Linked DNA regions of Homo sapiens: all the other regions are linked to region 2. The links are contacts of gene promoters, found by promoter capture Hi-C in blood cells and fetal thymus (Javierre and others, 2016). All regions are on one chromosome and are shown on one strand. Each heading gives the region's core, a stretch centred on a gene start or on the middle of the fragment in contact. The rest is flanking DNA. Distances are from core to core; before and after follow the strand shown. Region 1 has its middle 5.1 kb from the start of DCDC2. Region 2 holds the start of CDKAL1 (CDKAL1 threonylcarbamoyladenosine tRNA methylthiotransferase). Region 3 overlaps MRS2 (magnesium transporter MRS2). Region 4 holds the start of TDP2 (tyrosyl-DNA phosphodiesterase 2). Region 5 overlaps DCDC2 (doublecortin domain containing 2).

Region 1 (4,470 bases), core at 1,692-4,191, 3.8 Mb before region 2:
TGAACCCGAGAGGCAGAGGTTGCAGTAAGCCGAGATCATGCCGTTGCACTCCAACCTGGGTGACGAGCAAATCTCTGTTCCAAAACAAACAAACAAAGCTCTAAACCTAGGTGAGGCAATGAGGATGAGCAGTAGAGGAAGGATTAAGGTATGTTAGGCAAATGGAAGCTACAGGATTTGGTTCTGGATAGGAGTTAAGGATGATACCCCTTATAGTCAATATTGGCCAATGAGTTAGCCAGTTAATATAGCCAACTGGGGTAGGCCACCTAGCACGTGGATTTGAAGGAGAGGTTAGCCATTACCAGAACTAATTGAATTCACCTGACAAGAGGCTTGTCAGAGAGTCACCGTTACCCATGTGTAGGTCCAAGAAACAGTCTCAAGGCCCTCAAGTTCCTGTTCTTTTTGAGGCTAAGATGTGAAAACCAATTGTAAAGGTGACACTTTTTAAGGAAAAACTAGCAGAATATGTCTCACATTTAATACATATCTCTGTTGCCTTGAAAGGATATTAAAACTCAATACTGGCTAAGAGAGCTTGGTTTCCTGTGTAGGTGCACACCTCTGCACGTGGCTGTGCATTTTCTGTGGAAGCTAAGCAATTAGTCTTAGAATCTCTTCGGTTGTCAAGGACTGTACTTTTTTTTTTTTTGCTGATCTGAAAATATGTTTCCTTCTACAGGAGCATTTTCCAGTTTTTGAAGTTTTAGGTTAATTTTTAAACTTAATATATTTTCCTTTTGTTTATGCATTCATGAAATAATTATTTAATACTTACTATGTTCCAGCCTCTGTGCTAGGTACTAGTAAGACATTGATGAATAAAATGAACACAATCCTTTTCCTTAGGGAATTTATACATATAAACATTTAACTCTACAAAGATTAAACATGTAATTATATAAAGCTTTACAATTAAACATATAATTATATGAAGATTTGTAATTACGTAGCCAGGCATGGTGACTTGTACCTGTAGTCCTACCTACTTGGGAGGCTGAGGTGGGAGGATCACCTGAGCCTATGAGGTCAAGGCTGCAGTATGTTATGCTCATGCCTTTGAGTAACCACTGCTCTCCAGCCTGGGCAACATAGTGAGATCCCATCTTTTAAAAATAAATAAACATTTAAAAATTTATACTTATAATTGATAAAACCTATAGAGAAAAAATATGTAATATGTTGGGGGTTTATCCTGATCTGGGGAGTGGGGTAGAGAAGATTTCCTGGGGAACTGACATTTAAGTTGGAACTTGATCTATAGAGGGAGTTGGAAGGAGCCAAATAAATAGGAATGGGGGGATAAGGGGCTGTAAAGTACATCCAAAGGGATTTTAAAGGAAGCGATGGTACAAGTCTTCACTTTGGAGAGCCATAGGAAGATTTGCGTGAGAAGAGATGGAAACTAAAGCAACAAGAGTAGTATATTTATGGCTTTGTCATCAAAGTTGATGATATTGGATTTCACTGTAAGAGAAATGATAAGGATTTGAAGAATTTTAAGCTGGAAAGTGAAATGGATAGATCTGTGTTTTCAGCGACCTTTCAGGATGACTGTTCTGTGGAGAATGGATAATAGGGAAGCAAACTGGAGACAGGGTTACCTCTTAGGGGATGATGATGCCTTGAATTCAAAATGTGGAAATGGGTTTGGAGATAAGTGGATGGATTTAAAAAATATTTGAGAGATAGAATTGATAGAACTTGGTGATTAGTTGAAGAGCCCTTATAAACCTAGGGTGCAATGTGGTCTGGTTTTAGCACAGTATTACATCAAAATAAATATTGCTTAAGCAGAAATATATAATTGAAAGCATTTCAGAGATCTAGGCTCTTGAGGAAACAGCAAATGCCTTGTTGGTATTATTATTTTTCTTTTTGATTTTTTGAGACAGGGTCTTATTCTGTTACCCAGGCTGCAGTGTAACGGCATGAGCATGGCTCACTGCAGCCTCAACTTCCCAGGCTCTGATGATTCTCCCACCTCAGTCTCCTGAGTAGCTGGGACTACAGGAGCATGCCACTATGCCCTGATAATTTTTTTAGTTTTTTGTTTTTTTAGAGATGGGGTTTTGCCATGTTGGCCAGGCTGGTCTCAAACTGCTGGGCTCAAGCAATCCACCTGCCTCAGCATCTCAAAGTGCTGGGATTACAGGCTTGAGCCACCGTGCCCTGCTGGTGGTATTATTTTTAATGCACAGCAACACTTCTTTAAGAATCTTCTTTGGCCATCTCTCTCATTCTCAATGCCTTTCATATACTTAGGAAGAAGCTAAAATACAAAAACTCTCCCCTCCTTTCCTATGTGTGTTCTCAAACATTCCCTTGCATCCATCTGAAGCTCCTCATTCCTTAGCATTCCGCTCCTCATTCTACCTCAGCTCTTCGTGATCAGGGTTTATCTAACCTTTCTGGCTTCTTAAAGCCTTCTCACTTTGCTCAGTGTTCGGACTTTGCACAAGAGAGAAGAGCTCCAAAACCAATTCAGCAAGCATCTGGAGCAGGGAGAGAGATTGCAAATATCTGACTGTTTTTGTTGTTCCTCTGCCACAGTTAAATGTGTTCTGTGAAGAAGAGAAATGTATATGTTCTAGCTTTGAGCAAATGAGTAGATGAGGGTCCATTTGTGGAGACAGGAAACATAGGAAAAGTGATTTTGAGGAAAACTTGAGATCCCGTGAACGTTTCGAGTCTAGGCTGCCTTTTAGATGGTCTAGAGAAGCTGTCAGGAGAATTGTGTGCCTGGAACTGCCTTGTTCTGGCGTGTGAGGCAACTGTTAAATTCTCAGGAATTGTAAACATGGGCATTGTTAAAAAGTAATTTTATAAATATACGATTAAATAAAAAATAATTGTATAAATATACAATTAAATAAAAAATAATTGTATAAATATACAATTAAATAAAAAAATTGTATAAATATACAATTAAATAAAAAATAATTGTATAAATATACAATTAAATAAAAAATAATTGTATAAATATACAATTAAATAAAAAATAATTGTATAAACATACAATTAAATAAAAAATAATTGTATCAACATACAATTAAATAAAAAATAATTGTATCAACATACAATTAAATAAAAAATAATTGTATAAACATACAATTAAATAAAAAATAATTGTATAAATATACAATTAAATAAAAATTGTATAAATATGCAATTAAATAAAAAATAATTGTATAAATATACAATTAAATAAATTACATTGAAAACAAAGATAATAAATACTCAAAACTCATCTCCATCTACATTTTACTACTATCTGTGCTCTTAAAGTTACACAAGTCTGCTGTGCCTGCATGGTGGAAATACCATACAATGACTTGCTACTGCACATTTCATGGCTTCAGTGATGTTAGACTGGCATCTGGAAATTGGCCATATTTGGAGTAAACTACAGAGATTGGCAAATGCTATGAATTAAGGCCTTCTCTTCCCTCCTAAAAGCCAGCAGTTAAACACTTATCACCACATCATATCCAAGAGACATCTGGATAAATGAATCTAAGCTCAGGAGACACATCCGGGTTGGAGATACCGCAGTGGGAGGCATAGACTTGATGCGGGCAGCTTCATGGGCTGGCGTCAGGGTCCCCACATCAAGAAGGACCCCATGATTGGTTTAATGCTCTGCTGTTGCTAACATAAAATTCTTAATTTTTGAATAAGAGGCCACATTTTCATTTTACACTGGGCTAATATAGATGATAGGGAATTTTAGGTTGTTTGGGGAGGGGGCTACTTAATTGATTGCCTTCCATTTCCACATAACAAGTATTCTGTCTTACTCACCTATGTGGTAGCACATTTTCACAGGTATTTTCCCCATCCATCCCTCAACCTGTGCATTCTCCACAAGCAGCTCACAAAATTTCCCTTGTCTATTTCCTCCCTGTATTGTTCTCTTTGGCCTTCTTTTGAAATTTGTTAACTTTTTTTTTTTTTAACTTTCATTTTAGGTTCAGGGGTACATGTGCAGATTTGTTATATAGGTAACTCGTGTCACGGAGGTTTGTTGTACAGATTATTTCATCACCCAGGTACTAAGCCTGATACTCAACAGTTATTTTTTCTGCTCCTCTCCCTCCTCCCACGCTCCACCCTCAAGTAGGCCCCAGTATCTGTTGTTCCCTTCTTTGTGTCCGTGAGTTCTCCTCATTTAACTCCTACTTATATGTGAGAACATGCGGGTATTTGGTTTTTTGTTCCTGCGTTTGAAAACTGTTAACTTTCAAAGCATTAATGTATTACATGGCTTTAATAAAAATATTTCTTCAGAACAGAAATCTCGAAGGAAAAAAAAAGTTTCTCTCCAGATTGCAATGTCCCACACATTCATCTTTCACAGTGATATGACTGGTTATGGAGCTTGTGGAATAAGACAGAACTGGGTTTGAACTCTCTCTCTCTCTTTCGTTTTCTAATCCTTAGAATGGGTTTGAATTCCTGTGTGTG
Region 2 (4,233 bases), core at 356-2,855:
AGCTACTTGGGAGGCTGAAGTGGGATCACTTGAGACCAGGTGGTCAAGGCTGCAGTGAGCCGTAATCGAGCCACTGCACTCTGGCCTGGGTGGCATAGGGAAGCCGTGTCTCAAAAACACACACATACAAATGGCTGATAAGCACATGAAAAGATGTCAACATCATGAGCCATCAGGGAAATGGAAATCCAAACCACAATAATACACCACTTCATACCCATTAGGATGGGTAGAATCAAAAAGACAAATAACTGTTGACAGGCATGTGGATTACATCACCCAGAGGGGAAGAAAAAGAGAACAGAGGTAGGAGAAGGTACAAGACCACGACTTGAGAGACTCCAAATTTAACTGCCAGATAAAGGAAAATCAGCTTATAATGGATTCCAAGAAGCAGCCACCAGACAAGGAAAAAAATCCATGGGCCATGGAAGGCAAATGAAAAGGGCATCTCAAAAAAGTGGACATGGTCAATGCTGGTGAATGAAAATGAAAGGTTAAGTAAAATAAATGAAAATATCTCTTCGATTTAATGCTATGTAAAGCACAATGTTTCCATAACATGATAGTGGCAAATAGCTAAAACATTAGGCTACCTCTCTGCATTTTCTAACATGCAGAAATACGCACAGCACTCAAACATAAAAGGTTTAAAATAAATCAGTACCTTAATTATCTGCAATTAGTCTAAAGTCCTCTTGAAAGATGAGTCTGGAAAATAAAAATTGATTAGGAAAAGTAAGCACCCAAAAAGTTCACAAAACCACTGTAAGGATTCTTTACTTAAAAGGAATCAGACTCCATAAAAGACTGCTTTATACAGCAGGATTAATGATGCTCCATACTACTTGTAACTTCTTACTGATTACAACAGGTGTGCTGACATCTGCCGTGACGGTGATCCAGTGTCTGGCTTTAGTAATAAATGTTGTATTCAGCACCGCAACACGTCTGCATAGTGCGAGTAACCAACCACTACAAAACAGGATTAAGTCAATAAGGTAGATAGACATCCAGATCACGTTCCATCCGAAAGATAACTGTCGTCCCGAGATTCAGAAAAAGGTTTTATGAGCAAAGAAGAACGAAAAGTGAAAAAGCAAGACACCTGCTTTTCTCAATAACTTCTGCTTAAATTCTTAACATACTGATCTGGGAAAGCTATATAACTGCGAAAGCCTTGTCACATCTACAAATTCACTAAGGTATAAAGTGGGAGAACAAATGAAGTTAAACCTGACAATAAGGAACGAGGTGCCTAAAATACTCCTAACTGGAGAGCGGCACCTGAGGCCAACGACCCTATCCTCGCTCCTGGAAGCCCCATCTGCCTCCCAATTCCCCCATCCCAGCTGGCAAATCCCCTTTTAACTGCGAAACAAATTTGCAAACAGCCCAAGAAAAACTGAAACTGGAGAAACAAGGCTTGGCCATAAAAGGAGCTGTGGCCACACTCTGCCCCACATGGACCCATCGGCCACCCTTACCCAGAAGTCGGGAAGTAAAAACCAGTCCAAAGTGAGAAAATCAACCCGCCACTCTCCGGAAGCTGCACAGACTTTAGATGGAGAGCGCCATGACACATACGTCCCGCCACGTTTATTTGCGCATGCTCAGCGACGGTGGCCCGAAGAGATCAAATTACATCATTGCTGAAAGCGCTAGTTCTGGTTTAACTTAGTTTAGGAATGACTACGCTTCAAGTTCCTTTGATTCCAAGAACTAAAATAACAACCCTGAGTCCTCGGGTTCCTAGAAATGCTTAATAGCCAACTTCTCCTAAGCTTTTATGTGTTAGACACTGTGCTAAGTACTTTGCATAAATATTATTCACTATTTATTTATTATTATTATTATTCCCAGTTTACAAAAGAGGACACTGGAAGTTTAAGGACTTAATCTAAGTTACTCTACTAGTCGTGCTGCGCTCTGGGCTGGATCCGATGCTGTCTGACTCCCAAAGAACTTGCTCTTTTCACTGCATTTTACTAGCCTCCTCAATCATTTGTGAAAAGAGGTCTCTTCTTTAATATTAAAAAAACAGGAAGGAAAGGATAAAGGTCAGTTGGTAGGTTTCACTTAATATACATCATTGAGCACCACACAAGTGTTTTTGTTTTTTGTTTTGGAAAACTTAGATGGCAGTTTAGCAGACACCTATGGAAAGAAAATACTTTTATGGAGTACGGATTCTCACCCGCTTTCTCTACATATGTTATCTCACTTTACTATTCGTTACCCAAGACACTGTATTTGACCATGTGTTTACCAGAAGAATATCTTTACTTGAAAAAGTAAAGGTAATAGGAGGCAATAGGCCATGAAGAAGGGTCAGAAATCGTGAGTTTTATGCCTGACTTAGGGTTTCATAGTGATTTGGGGCAATTACTTTGTTTTGCAAATGCCTTTCCTAGTACAATTTCATCTAATTAAAATGCCATCCATCTACTCAAGAGGCTGATGTGGGAGGATCACTTGAGCTCAGAAGTTTGAAAACAGCCTGGGCAACACAGTGAGACCCAGTCTCTAAAATAGATTTAAAAAAAAAAAAAAAAACCACCCTTTTCTCTGTTTATCCATATCCATAAAATAATCTAAACTGTGCCCTGGGGTCCACTGTTGTCTTTACCCACCTAAATTAAAATTGTGTATTTATGTTGCCCTACTTTTTTTTTTTTTTTTTTTTTTTTTTTAGATAGGGTCTTCTTCTGTCACCCAGGCTGGAGTACAGTGTTACCATCACAGCTCACTGCAACCTCTCCCTCCTAGCCTCAAGAGATTCTCATGCCTTAGCCTCCCAAGTAGCTGGGACTACAGGTGCACACCACCATACCCATCTAATTCCATCTCTTTCACTAGACCAAAAGTAGGCCCTGGGTTATCTTCTTGGTTGTAATCGCACTACCTAGCACATAACCTTGTGCCTATGTTTATAGCTTCTCAATAAACATATGTTGAATGAATGAATGAATGAATGAATGACTCCACCCCTTTTCCCCCAAGATCTAGTTGAGTTCAGTAAAAGATATTTTACTGAGTATGTACCCCATGACCACAAGCACTGTGATAGATGCTAGAGCTAAAAAGAAAGAAAAAAAGTACTGCCTATTGCAATTGCAGGCTATTTTGAAAAAATTCATTTCAGTAGAGAATAGCAATCACTATGAAAGATGAATGCACAGGAACACAAAGGTGAAGTAAGGGAAATGGATGAAGGCATTCCAAGCTGGAGAGTCAGCCAGAGCAAAAGCAAGGAGGCCTGAAATGATGAATTATTCCACAGTGTAAAAGCAAAGAGAGTGAAGCTGGTGATGGGAGAAGTCTACCAGAGAAAGGGAAGCACAGGGACTAGATCAAGGTGAACCTTGTGTATTCAAAGGCATTAGACTTAATCCTGGATGTATGTAGTAGGCAACATGAATGTGTTCGAGCAGATTATTCTCTCAGGACAATGGGTTTGAGGACGATATTTCAGACATGAAGAAATAGTAAAAGCCTAAATTGAGTTGTTGGCTGGGAGGAATGGGAAGGAAGGACAGATTTAAACAAATTGAGGAGGTAACAGCAGCAAGACTTGGTGATTGATAGGTACGAAAAAAGAGGAAGAAAGGATGTTTTCAAGTTTTGGCTACAAAAACTAACTAACAGGTGAAACCTCTCTCTTTAAGCACCTTTAGTCTAAATCCTTTGAAGTCAGTAACCCTACCTCTAGGAATTTATCTTACAGAAATATACATAATGACCTATGTTCCAGAGTATTTTTTGAAGCATTGCTTACAATGACCTATGTTCCAGAGTATTTTTTGAAGCATTGCTTACAATGACCTATGTTCCAGAGTATTTTTTTAAGCATTGCTTACAATAGCAAAAGACTGGAAACCCTCTCCGGCTCCTCCTCAATAGAGTATTGGTTAAATATATTTATAGTATCTGTACAACCTTTGAAAAGCAACCAGTAAGTCCGGGTGCAGTGGATCACGCCTGTAATCCTAGCACTTTGGGAAGCCGAGGCGGGTGGATCGCCTGAGGCCAAGAGTTCAAGACCAGACTGACCAACATGGTGAAACCCTGTCTCTACTAAAAATACAAAATTAGCTGGGTGTGGTGGCATATGCCTGTAATCCCAGCTACTCAGGAGGCTGAGGCAGGAGAATCTCTTGAACCCAGGAGGTGGAGGTTGCAGTGAGCGGAGATTACACCATTGCACTCCAGCCTGGACAACAAGAGCGAAAC
Region 3 (4,375 bases), core at 1,451-3,950, 3.9 Mb before region 2:
CAGTGAACACCATATACCCACCAGTTAGATTACACAATTATCATTCTGCTGAATTTGCTTTTTCACATACCTGTCTGTCTCTCCATGAAAGAGACACTGTTTTGAAGAATGCTAGCTACTGATTCCAAGAGTAGAGAATATTTCTGAAGAAAATCACATGGGAGAAGACTGCTTCATTTTTGATAAAGTATTTTTTATTTACTTATTTATTTTTAGAGATGGGATCTTGCTATGTTGCTTAGGCTGGTCACAAACTCCTGGTCTCTGGTGACCCTCCCACTTCAGCCTCCTGAGTAGCTGGGACTAAAGGCACATGCTACCAATACTGGCCCATTTTTTATTATTTTGATTAGTTCTAGAAAAATGAACAAAAATCTGCCATCAAAGACTCTTTGAAGAAAGTCTCATACCCACTACAGGGCCAATACCATTCATCTATTTTTGAACCTAAACATTAGCCCACCAAAATAACTGAAACCCACATTAACTCTGAATCACTAAAGAAAGTCAAATTATTATTTGGCATGCTCTGAATAGGTAAGGGAAAATACAATATATTTCAGAAAGTTTTCCATTAAAAAAATTTAAACTGGCCAGGCACGGTGGCTCATGCCTGTAATCCCAGCACTTTGGGAGGCAGAGGCAGGTGGATCACCTGAGGTCGGGAGTTTCAGAGCAGCCTGACCAACATGGAGAAACCCCATGTCTACTAAAAATACAAAATTAGCTGGGTTTGGTGGCTTATGCCTGTAATCCCAGCTACTCAGAAGGCTGAGGCAGGAGAATTGCTTGAACCTGGGAGGTGGAGGTTGCAGTGAGCCAAGATCGTGCCAGCCTGGGCAACAAGAGCAAAACTCCATCTCAAAAAAAAAATTAAGGCTATAAAATTTAATGTCTATTCCTGTGCTATTTAGAAAGCCAGAATACATTTTTGGTAGCTCAGGTTATACTATAATTACATGTAACTGTACACAATTGGATATATATCTATTATAAATCAGGATTGTCTTATAGTTTCCAGAACTAGAGAGTAAATCCCAACAGTGAGAATGAACACCACAGTCAGAGCTTTTCCAACTTAAAACACAGCAGTGTTATGCCTATTGAACATGTGCATATAATCCATATAAAATGAGTTCTACTCATAATAGCATATTAAGCTATAAAACATCCTATGTTTCAGGTAGCTATTTCTATTCCAAAATTACTTTTAACCTAGATACTAATCAAGATAGTTAGAAGGTAACTTTTATAAGATTGTATTGGAGAAACATAGATGAAAATAAAATATTTTACCTCCATTCTCATGATAATCCTATTGTTTCTGACTGTGATACTCATTACATGCTGAAATCTCAAATCTCTGGCTTGAAGACCTAACTCTTGGTATAATTCAGTTTTCTTCCTTTCTATAAAAGAAATAAACAGAGAGGGCTAAACCAAATACATTAAATGGCTTAGATTTTTCCATCAGAGCAGTCCTCCCACCACCATCAAGACAATTTTTGGTTACTACCAGAAACAAAAACTAAAATTAAGTCTTTTAATATCCATTTTTACCTAGAAAACATACTCGGGCTAAATAGAGTCAAACTAATGATTTTCTTATCTATACCTCATAACTTTCTCACTACTTAGAAGACCCTTGAGACTAATACAGAAACCACAACTATGCATCATTAGAACCTATAAATGTCCAGCTCTAGAGACAGGTTATCTCTCTTAAATATAAACTGTACACAACTATATTTTCTATTTTTACTACAACATCATCTTCAGTATTTTATATATGTGAACAGATAAGCTTGATTTTCTTTGTTCTTAGACTAATACAAAAATGAGAAAAGCTGAATTTATTACCTGAGACTGATTCATTCTCAAGGGAGATGTGAAACTCACATCTGAAGTCACACTGTAAAGTAATGCCTAGTCTCACTTTTTAAAGTAGCTGTCCACAGAGAGCCATCAGCAGCAGAGTTCCATGTGGCTGCCATGCAGTGACATGGCCCTGTTCATCTTTTGTCACCCACTGCAATGTCAGTGGTATTATGTGACTCTGCCTTAAACATGCTTCAGGAGAATGAATGAGGGCAGTGAAAGGGACGCCAACAAGAGAGACAAAAGAGAAAAAGAGTGTGTCTCTGGGCTCCAGTTCTACACCAGCCTCTGCTCTCCCAAATATTCCTTCAATAGCCTGTTAGAGCAAAAAGTGGCTCCTGCTAGAAGAAAACAATTCTGGGAGAATACACACAGTCTGAGTATTGCCAGCTCCAATTAAGACTGATGGACAAATGCTGAAGAAAGATCTCTTTCAACACACCTGTATATGCAAAGAATATTTTACTCAAAATACTACAATTTCTTGATTTCTATCAGATTCACTCATTAAATGTTTAAAAAATGATTTAGAATGCTAATCACTCACCAAAAGAAGTAACGTTTCCCTGTTTGTCAAATTTTGTCTGAAAATAGAGAATAAAACAAATTATGATTTTCTTTCAAATTAGAATGCTACTTATGGTATTGCTAATTTAGTTAAGAATTTATGGTATTGTAAGTAATATCCCCAAAATGTTGAAATGCAAATATAAACCATTACTGACCTTCTTTAGATTAAATCCAGTTATGAGTTAAGGGTTTTTTTAAAATCCTTTTTTCCTTTGATAGGAAAAATCAGACCTGGGTTTAACTTTCTATCTTGGTTCCTCTAGAAAGTTGATAAAGGAGTATCAGTTGTGTTGTTACTAGGTAACAATCCTTATGGTAAAAATGACCATTGACTGGTAGACTGCACTGGACTGGGAAGACGAACAAATTACAGTTATCAGGTGAAAAGCAATAGCTCTCTTTGCCCTTTCCTGATTGTGGTGGCTCTTGTGGCCATGTTCCCAGCCAGAATCCTGGACACTGTGCCCCTGCGATGGTTACAAGGGATACTGTCACTACGGGGCATGGGGATTCGAGCCAAGATGAATCTCACATCCACCTTTGAGAATCTTATCTCCTTGTCACTGAGCGATCACTCAGAGGACCAGAGAAGCCCCTGGATGGCTGCAAAGACTTCTTTTGAAGAGGAAACACCTAACACTACCCTGTTGTTTCTCCTGTCCCTTATCCTTCTGAGTAGACTGGGACCAAGTATGGCCCGCCTTGTGAATCTAAATGTCTACATGAGGCCAAAGTCTCTTTGGTGGGTGTTGCAGAATCAATAAAGATTTACAGAACCCCTTCTGATAGTTTGAAGAGAGGATTTGATACAGAAAATGCACCTATTTCCTGCAAAGTAGGGGACTATCTTTCAGTGATGTTTATCCACAGTCAAGTTTGAAGCTGTGAAACATTTAATGAATCACTATGTGCTGAGCTGTACTACTTACTACGACAGACACATTTCAGAAAGACACTCCAACATACAGGTTTAAGTACAATATAGGTCTTGGGTTACTACCATGGAAATATACATGCTGTGTTAATCACACAATAAAAACTCACAATATATATATTTTATCTTGCTTCTCATCAGCAAAAATAAAATTAATATGAATATATAAGTTCCATAGAACATTAAAGGAAAATTTATATCAAAGAAAGCTTTATATTTGTGTAATAGTCTAGCTTTCAGCCTTATATTTCACAAATACATAAACCCACTGCAGAAAATTTGAAAATAAATATACGTAACATAAAACTATATTAATCACCTGAAATGACAAATTTTAGAGAAAACCATGTCAATATTTCACTGAATATCCTTCCAAACATTTTCCTAATAAAACATACTTATACATACTGCTTTGCAGTCTCCCTCCTTCCAAATTAGCAACATATGCTGAATATTTTTGCATCTCAATATTTATATGTACCCTTTTTTTCTTTAATGGAACTTAAAAAAATTTTTTAAATCATACAAATTATAAAGAAAAAAATATTTACTTTGTAACCAGCTCACTTTCTAAACTATTTCAAACAGCACAAATTAAATTTTTCTTTCTCAGATTCCATAGCTTTATGAATTTCTTAAGTGTTCTTTGCAATTATTTCACCTGCAAAGAACTAACTTTCAGTATTTCACGTTTGACTTTGTATTCTTTTTTTGAGACAGAGTCTTGCTCTGTTGCCCAGGCTGGAGTGCAGTGGTGCAATCTTGGCTCACTGCAACCTCCACCTCCCAGGTTCAAGCGATTCTCCTGCCTCAGCCTCCTGAGTAGCTGGGACTACAGGCGTGCACCACCACGCCTGGCTAATTTTTTTGTTTTTTAGTAGAGACGGGGTTTCACCATGTTGGTCAGGCTGGTCTAAAACTCCTGACCTCAAATGATATGCCCACCTCAGCCTCCCAAAGTGTTGGGATTACAGGCGTGAGCCACCGTGCCTG
Region 4 (4,193 bases), core at 429-2,928, 4.1 Mb before region 2:
TGCTCCACACCCCAAACACAGGAGTGTCCTTTCATTTTCAGTAAATCCCTGCTTTTGGCGGGGCATGGTGGCTCATGCCTGTAATCCCAGCACTTCGGGAGGCCAAGGCAGGTGGATCACCTGAGGTCAGCAGTTTGAGACCAGCCTGACCAACATGATGAAACCCTGTCTCTAATAAAAATAAAGAATTAGCCAGGCTTGGTGGCGCATGCCTGTAATCATCCCAGCTACTTGGAAGGCTGAGGCATGAGAATCACTTGAACCCAGGAGGCGGAGGTTGCAGTGAGCCGAGATCGTGTCACTGCACTCCCGCATGGGCAACAGAGCAAGACTCCATCTCAAAACAACAACAACAACAAACACCTTCAAGGTCTGGCGTGGCGGCTCACACCAGTAATCCCAGCACTTTGGGAGGCGGAGGCAGGCGTTTCACCTGAGGTCGGGAGTTCGAGAGCAGCCTGACCAACATGGAGAAACCCTGTCTCTACTAAAAGTACAATATTAGCTGGGCATGGTGGCGCATGCCTGTAATCCCAGCCACTCGGGAGGCTGAGTGAGGCAGGAGAATTGTTTGAACCAGGGAGGTGGAGGTTGCAGTGAGCCGAGATCGCGCCATTGCACTCCAGCCTAGGCAACAAGGGCGAAACCTCATCCTAAAAAAACAAAAACAAACAAACACCTTCGGGCTTTGTGAGTGCTGGTCTCAGAAAAGCACTCAGTCTTCCTCCAAGGGCTAACTTACTTCTTCAGGAGTTGGGTGCCTTTGAGAAATTTCCCAAACCACTACAGAGGAACAACTTCTCCCTTCGTTCACCACTCTACCAAGCACTTGGCTTTTGTACCTTATTGCAATTATTTATCTTCTAATCTTCTAGAGCCTAGAGAATTAGACTGTAATGTGCCTTAAATGCAGAGGTTTCTCTTACTCTTCTCTGGAGCAATGCAGACGTTTGTTGGTTGAAGGATCAAACTCCAAAGTCCCTCCCAGCCTTGGAACTGTCTCCACGAGTCATAACCATACTTATCTATGTTTAGATAGAGAACTTACGCGTTCGACCCAGCATATTTAGGGGCTCCATTAAAGTAATAATCATTATTACTAAGGTGAATTTACAGGCGTACTAGAACACAACCTAACAAGAGATAATTATTCAAAGCTCACAACGGCACCAAGCACGGTGCTTTCTTTTCCTTCATTAGAAGCCACGGCTTCTCCCCTACCTTTCCCATACCTTTCCCAAAACTCTCTCAAAATTGCGAGCCTTGGTCATGGCCTTTATCACCTCCCGCAGAGACTGAGTCATGCTGGTCATCGTGGACGGTTTTCCAGCCTTTGGGCTTTGCGCAAGAACGAACTTCGGAAGAGCTGGAAAGTCCAGAAGTTAGTGAAAGAAGGAGGACACAAAGGGCGAAGAGCCCGCACCCTTCTCCGCCCCTAGGAGCGCAAGAGGCCGGGAGTCAGGCGAGCTGGCAGCCCCGGTGGTCCGCGATTTGCTCACTGACTTTCCTCGCACCCTTGTGACGAAGCGCGCATGCGCGCTTCGCACCCACCGCCCCGGCGGCTCCCTTGCGGCGCAGCTGCACCAGTTTTCCGAGAGCAGCGCATTTCCCCGCCGGGCGGTTGATGCGGGAGCGCCATGACACAGGCGCCTGCGCAGAGCCGCGCGTTGGCCTCCTGTTCCGCTTAAAGGGGCGGTGCAGAGGCGGCAGGAAGATGGAGTTGGGGAGTTGCCTGGAGGGCGGGAGGGAGGCGGCGGAGGAAGAGGGCGAGCCTGAGGTGAAAAAGCGGCGACTTCTGTGTGTGGAGTTTGCCTCGGTCGCAAGCTGCGATGCCGCAGTGGCTCAGTGCTTCCTGGCCGAGAACGACTGGGAGATGGAAGTACGCTTTCGCTGTCCTCGCTTCCGGCTCCATTACCTAGGTCGGTGGAGCGCACAAACCTCATCCCTTGTGCCTTTGTTTTTCAGAGGGCTCTGAACTCCTACTTCGAGCCTCCGGTGGAGGAGAGCGCCTTGGAACGCCGACCTGAAACCATCTCTGAGCCCAAGACCTAGTAAGTGATGAGGGGAGCGGGAGCCAGTCCGCACGGAGGCAGTTTGATACCAGGTAGCCCTGCGCGTCCTGGGACCTGCCGTGGAGCTGGGCGGACGATGCTGAGGCAGATCTCCAAGCTGCGTAGCCAGAGGAGCAGGGCTTGCGTTGCTGCTGCTGCGCGGAGTTGCGCCCCAGCAGCGGATCTAACACTGCACCAGACTGTCGCTTCGAACGTGATTTGGGGTCCAGGGAGGAAAAGATGGAAATGTAATGTTTAACTCAAATGAAAGGAAATAAGTAAGCGAGAGGTTTGAAACAAATGAACGAAGGCTAAACCTTCTATCGAAAAATGGCAACTTGGAAGTCTCCTTGCTTCCTGTATTGTTTATTTATTCTAGGCCCTAGGCTGACCGGCCAGAATAACAGGTTTGTTGTTGTTGTTATTTTTTTTTAATGCACACCTACTCCTGTTATTTCAGTGCCCCTCTCCAGTTCCTGCACTTAAAAAGTGTAGCTGCCTTACAAGGCCCTCTACTATTTGGCTCCATAACTTAGAACCTGCCTTTCCAGGTTCCAGGCCTATCAAACTTTTACTTTTTTCCAACGGGTCATTTTCTCCTGTCTTTGAAACTTCGTAAAGATCTTTATTACCTGTGCCTGGAATTTTTTTCTTTTCCCTTCCTTGCTAATATTTGTCTTAAAGCCCCAAGCTGAGACATGATTTATCTCTAGGAAGCTTTTCCTGATGTCCTAAGTCTGGGTAAGAGTCCCCTTTTAGGTACTCTTATAGCATCCTGCATGACCCCTGTTACAATACCTTAGTCCGTATTATAATTGCTGTTCATTATTTTATGTCTCCTACTAGACTGCACATCTAGTAAGGAGTATCTGTTTTGTACATTGTTAATTTCCCAAAGTCTGACACAACATTTGACACATAATAAGCTCCCAATAAATATTTACTGAATGTATAAAATTCTCCCAGCTATATGTACAACCTGTAAAATTGACTGTTCATAGTGGAGACTTTATTTTCCCTTTGGTCTTTTCAGCTACACTGGCTTACAGATGTGATAAGATATTTTCTTTAGGTTCCTTTCTCTGTCTTGCCTCTTGTTGGGGAATTGTTTACTCACCCACAGTGATTTGTCTCTGGCTCCCGTTTTACTAACCAGAGCAAGTTGGACTAGGAGGTGTTTGCCTAGCTCAAACTGGCCAGTCAGATCCTCTCCTTGGTTTCAGAATTAGGACCAAGAGAGTCAAGTCTGAGTCTTCCTATGGAGCTGGAACTGTAACATGTTAACTTAGCACCTGTGAGGATTCATACATATCTTTTTTTGTGTACAGAGAAGCTGAGAACAGAGGTCTGCAGAGAGACAATGAAGCAGAGGGAAGTTGAAGTGTAGGATTGAGAGAAAGCCCTTAACTGCCCTTCCTTAAACATGGCTGTATTTCTGTACCAGGCTCTGTGACATGTTTGTTTCCTTATAAATTCTCCTGTTTTGGTCAAACCAACCTGAGTTAATGTCTGTTGGTTGCAACAGACTATATTGTAACCAATAAATAGTAACAAAATAAGTGGATTTCCTGTAATAGGCCCTCAGAAAAGATGCGGATCAAGCTGATCAATGGTGTCATGGCTATTAGGATTCTCTTACCCCGGAATGGTAAATTGGCAAAAACAAGCAAAGGTGTTGATTAGGCTGTGGTCTCTTGTCTCTCAGAACTCAGGTCAAGTATGAATGAGAGTGAGGTTTTAAAGTTTAGTTTGCTCAAGAGAGAAAAATGGGGAAGGGGCAAACTTCAGCGTGTTTCTAAGGCCTGTGACCTGATTAGATTTTTGATGTTGGCTTTAGCAAAAATGAAAGGGAAAAAAAAATTGATTGGAAGATTTTATGACCAGAAAAACTCAACCCTGCTGAGCAAGGGCATTGGCTGTCTTAAATGAATGGCGCAGGAATCTCAATTCTGGAGTGAATTCCTGGGATATCAACAAAAATTGAAATTGAACACTAAAGTGATTTAGTCCCCTACATTAGAATCTATCTTCAGTGTCTCTGATGAGAGACAAGGGAAATCCTCTTAAAACAGCTATGCTGAATCTTAGCTGCATATTGGAATTATCTGGGGAATTTAAAAAAAAAACCAGAGATTCTAATTT
Region 5 (4,442 bases), core at 196-2,695, 3.7 Mb before region 2:
AGAACTGCCCTCTGTTGAATTACTGGTGTAGGCCAGAGCCTCCAGGTCAGGGATCCATCTGGGTTTGGGTCTGAGAGGAATGCAGAGCTGGAGGAGCCAGACCTGGAGTTACTCGGGTGGGGACACTGAGGTGTGGGCGGAGGTTCTTCTATTAGCGTGATCCTCTGCAGGAGGATTAGTTTGGGATTGTCACATCTTTATTTCTTCCCCAGCTCCAGAGTTTGGCTTGCCTGCCTCCCTTTTCATAGATGCTACCCATTACTTCTAAGCAGGGCCTCTTTGCTTCTTGCCTTACCAGGGGCTCTGACAAGTTTCACAGCCTTTTCTTAATTCTGCTGCCTGCAAGGTCAGGTTGAACCTTTCTCTTTTTTTCTTTTTTTTCTTTCTTTCTCTCTCTCTCTCTCTTTTTTTTTTTTTTTTTTGAGGGAGTGTCTCACTCTGTCACCCAGGCTGGAGTACAGTGGCACCATCTTGGCTCACTGCAGCCTTGACCTCCTGGGCTCAAGTGATCCTCCCACGTAGCTGGGACTACAGGCAGGTGCCACCACACAAGGCTAATTTTTGTATTTTTATAGAGACGGGGTTTCACCATGTTGCCCAGGCTGGTCTCAAACTCCTAAGCTCAAGTGATCTGCCTGCCTTGGCCTCCCAATGTGCTGGGATTACAGGTGTAAGCCACTGTGCCCTGCCAGGTCTGAACCTTTCTGTAGCTTACTACAGATAAAATATGCATCCGCCCCAGTGGTGAGTTTCTGGCATACCAAAGACTGAAGCATGATTTATCTGCTTTTCTGAAAGAAGCTGAAATTGGGTCACTCTGAGCATTTCATCCTGGAATCTGAGGAAGGGCCACATGGGGGCTTGGTTAGGGAGGTGTCTGATGTCATGAATGTTGGTGAGATGCCTATCATAGAGGGTGACAGGGTGGAGGGAGGAGGAAGATGTAGCCATAGGGTTTATTACCCTTTCTCCCTCTTCAACTCCCTGTTTTCCTTGTCAGGCCTGGGGTGATATAAAACCTGGAAAGGGCCCGGTCCTTTAGAATATCAGCAGATCCTGGACCATAGGTCACATGTAAAGGACACAGATAAATGTTCAGAGCATTCCGCACAGAGTAGTCAGCACAGGGTCAGTATTTGTTGATATATATGTGTGTGTGTGCATGTAGGTCAATTATACCTATATTATGGTGACAATTGAAATTAAAGGCTGCAAACTGTAAGCATTGAGTAATGGCACACTCCTGATACCCATGCTTTAGAACATCTTGATGGTGCATTCTAATCTGATATTTTGTAAGCTTCATTTACAAATACTTAGAATGGATAAACAGCATTTTCCTAGCTTAGTGAATGAGGGGGAAAAGAGGAGAAACCAGTTTGCCCAGAGTCAAAGATCTATCAATGGTTAGTGATTTCTGGAAATTGCCAGACTGACACATAGCTGCTGGTTAAGAGGTGGATGTGCCTGTGTGACTGTTTGAAAGGGGAGGTGGAGGGACAAGTGAGGGAAGCTCTCGTGTGTGTGTTTTGACCTGTCTTCCTTCAGTGATAAAAATGTTGATGTATCACAGCAGACCCTGAAGCTTAGCTGGGAGATTTTGGGGAGTTCCTGTTTGTTTCTTCTTCTACTCTCCACTATTTCATATTAACTTTTTAAATGGGGATGATTGATTTTCATCCCTTCTATTTTCTAGGTGGTCGGAGTTAGTCATTACTAACAAGCCGTTTTTCTCTTTAGCAGTCTGATGTAATAATGGGTCTTCTCTATTTTGACACATCTTAGCTGGGGACTGCCTTCAGCATTTAGACCCTCTTTTCTAGGGTTTAGGGACCTTGAAGAAGGTAGATATTTTGGGGGCTGACCTCTAGTTTCTGTATCAAATGATCAAATCCCCTTTTTTAAAACAGTTACTTAAACATTCTAGGACTTAAGCTCTGCAACCCAAGCCTTTCTCTGTGTCTGAATTTCCTTCCCCATGTTTCATGACTTTCTAGACTTAGGAACCCCATCCCCTTTCCTAGGTCACTACTTTCATTTTTCAGTGAACATTTATTGAGTCCCTACCATGTACTCCACCCCTTGCTAATCACCAGAGTATTTCATTTTCTCTTCTTTGTTCTAATTGCTCAGTACTTACACATTTTCTTCCAATAGTCATAATTATATCTTTATCAATAAATTTTCCTTGGTTAAGTAGATGCAATTTACCTTTTCCCTTTCAATGACCAGACTTTATTCACTATCCCTAAATGCCAAATTATGTTGCAAGCATTGACATTTTTTCCTTCTGGGTATTGAGTCATTTCTTAGACCTCTGTATTAATTTTGTCCTTATAGAAAGTACCAGCACACTACTAAAGAACATAGGCCATTTCTACTTAAATGTATTTAGTCCAATGTCTGGGACAATTACTAAATACTGCTTGGCACTATGAGACAGGGAAGGAGTATTTCCTCACTTATGTGATACCCTGGGACTCCTTTGTAGTCTGTGGCCTATTTTGTATATGAACTCTATTTTTATTCTTCTCTATTGCCCTAGTTATTTTCAAAATAAGATATAACCTTTATTGCAAATCACCATGCAGTGTGCTATCACAGTGGAGATAAAGATAAAATATCTGTAAAATACCTTTGAGCTTTGTAGGTTTAAAGCTACCCATTTATTCTTATTTTATACAATTGGATGATAATACCAAATTGTTTCTTTGAAACTGGGCAAGATTTTATTTCCTTTAAAATTACATAATAAAGTGGCCTGGCACAGTGGCTCATGCCTGTAATCCCAGCACTTTGGGAGGCCGAGATGGGTGGATCACCTGAGGTCGGGGGTTCAAGACCAGCCTGGCCAGCATGGTGAAACCCTGTCTCTACTAAAAATACAAAAATTAGCCGGGCATAGTGTCGCATGCCTGTAGTCTCAGCTACTTGGGAGGCTAAGGCATGAGAATTGCTTGAACCCAGGAGGCAGGGGTTGCAGTGAGCTGAGATTGCACCACTGTATTCCAACCTGGGCGACAAGAGCTTCTGGATGGTGTTAAGCTGAAGGCTCTTACCCAGGGCGTTTACTGTCATTTCCTAAGTTGGGTTCCATTGAGCAGTAGTTTCACGCACTTTTTGTATGTTTGTTTGTTTCTTTTGAGACAGAGTCTGACTCTGTCACCCAGGCTGTAGTGCAATGGCCTGATCTCAGCTTACTGCAACCTCTGCCTCCCAGGTTCAAGCAATTATCGTGCCTTAGCTTCCTGAGTAGCTGGGATTACAGGCATGCGCCACCACATCCAGCTAATTTTTGTATTTTTAGTAGAGATGGGACTTCGCCATGTTGGCTAGGCTGGTCTCGAACTTCTGATCTCAGCTGATCCATCTGCCTCAGCCTCCCAAAGTGCCGGAATTACAGGCGTGAGTCACCGCGCCTGGCCAATTTCATGTACTTTTAATATATGCTTCTGGTAATGAGTTTCATGTTCAACTACAAATTTGGGAAATGTTGGATGATACAAAGTTAAGTCATTGTCTCTGCTACAGGATTTCTCAGAGCCTTTAGTATGGACGTATTCCACGCTTTTACTTGCTTTGGATCCCTATTACTGAGGAGCATCTGGTGGGATTATTGTTCTTTAGAGCACAACTTGAGAAGCGTTGGGGTACTCAAATAGGCATACTGCTTCCACACATTACCTGATCATTGTAGGGCTTGGGGAATTTCTGATGAAAATTAAGTCAGACATCTTTTTGTGTGATTCTGATCAGATCAGTAGCTAGCATGGACAGTGGACATTTTCTGGGTGCTTACTCTGTGCCAGGGACTAGACTGAGCACTTTAAGTGTACAGTGCAAGGGTTCCCTTGTGGAGTCCTCAGACCTTTGGTTCCAGCCTGCAAAGGTTGTTCTCTTGGCTTGTGGCACAGATGTTATCTTGCATTTTCCCTTACTGTCATTATGAAAATTGCTTTTGTGTCTTTTCTGTGGAGATCCCATTTCCAGGGGCTTTTGTATACTTATTTCTTGGTTGACTCCATTTTGGCAGGACATATCCTCCAGTAATTTCTGGAGAATGGCTAGAGAAATGGTCATTATTTTTTGAGACCCAGCAAGTCTGAAAATATTTTCATACTTTTACATTTAACTTTCAGTTTGGATGGACATAGAATTTTTGTTTTGTTTTATTTTTAATTTTCATGGGCACATAGTAGGTATATATATTTATGGGATACATGAGATATTTCGATACAGGCATATAATTCATAATAATCACGTTAGAGTAAATGGGGTATCTATAACCTCAAGCATTTATCATTTCTTTTTGTTACAAACACTCCAATTATACCCTTTTAGTTATTTAATAATGTACAATAAATTATTGTTTACTATAATCACCCTGTTGACAAACAAAAGCTCTTATTCATTGTATCTAACTATATTTTTGTACCCATTAA

What was found. The method cuts DNA at HindIII sites, captures the fragments that hold promoters and counts their contacts. A CHiCAGO score of 5 or more calls a contact.
Region 1: a contact is called between a fragment that was not itself captured here and the fragment with the promoter of CDKAL1 in region 2, in 1 of 17 cell types (fetal thymus). The highest score is 5.4, in fetal thymus.
Region 3: a contact is called between a fragment that was not itself captured here and the fragment with the promoter of CDKAL1 in region 2, in 2 of 17 cell types (M0 macrophages and non-activated CD4 T cells). The highest score is 8.5, in M0 macrophages.
Region 4: a contact is called between the fragment with the promoter of TDP2 here and the fragment with the promoter of CDKAL1 in region 2, in 1 of 17 cell types (fetal thymus). The highest score is 6.6, in fetal thymus.
Region 5: a contact is called between a fragment that was not itself captured here and the fragment with the promoter of CDKAL1 in region 2, in 1 of 17 cell types (endothelial precursors). The highest score is 6.8, in endothelial precursors.

Annotation. Positions count from the first base shown.
Region 1 is chr6:24,360,922-24,365,391 of GRCh38, reverse strand. It overlaps a transcript of DCDC2 not described here. Among named protein-coding and RNA genes, the nearest start is that of DCDC2, 5.1 kb to the right of the region's middle. The HindIII fragment of the contact is 4,058 bases long and covers 913-4,470 here.
Region 2 is chr6:20,531,829-20,536,061 of GRCh38, reverse strand. It overlaps CDKAL1 (CDKAL1 threonylcarbamoyladenosine tRNA methylthiotransferase), which reads right to left and starts at 1,605. Exons shown (of 16, transcript NM_017774.3): 1 at 1,488-1,605; 2 at 668-711. RefSeq lists enhancers at 1,407-1,486, 1,517-1,676. The HindIII fragment of the contact is 2,844 bases long and covers 1-1,786 here.
Region 3 is chr6:24,406,495-24,410,869 of GRCh38, reverse strand. MRS2 (magnesium transporter MRS2) reads right to left here. Exons shown (of 11, transcript NM_020662.4): 3 at 2,426-2,462; 4 at 1,297-1,409. Among named protein-coding and RNA genes, the nearest start is that of MRS2, 5.7 kb to the right of the region's middle. The HindIII fragment of the contact is 1,787 bases long and covers 1,807-3,593 here.
Region 4 is chr6:24,664,384-24,668,576 of GRCh38, reverse strand. It overlaps TDP2 (tyrosyl-DNA phosphodiesterase 2), which reads left to right and starts at 1,678. Exons shown (of 7, transcript NM_016614.3): 1 at 1,678-1,879; 2 at 1,966-2,051. The coding sequence starts at 1,715. It overlaps ACOT13 (acyl-CoA thioesterase 13), which reads right to left and starts at 1,500. Exons shown (of 3, transcript NM_018473.4): 1 at 1,233-1,500. The coding sequence starts at 1,313. RefSeq lists enhancers at 1,462-1,756, 1,288-1,959, 1,960-2,632. The HindIII fragment of the contact is 8,130 bases long and covers 1-2,770 here.
Region 5 is chr6:24,267,188-24,271,629 of GRCh38, reverse strand. The region is part of intron 7 of DCDC2 (doublecortin domain containing 2); the gene reads left to right. Among named protein-coding and RNA genes, the nearest start is that of KAAG1, 87 kb to the left of the region's middle. The HindIII fragment of the contact is 285 bases long and covers 1,303-1,587 here.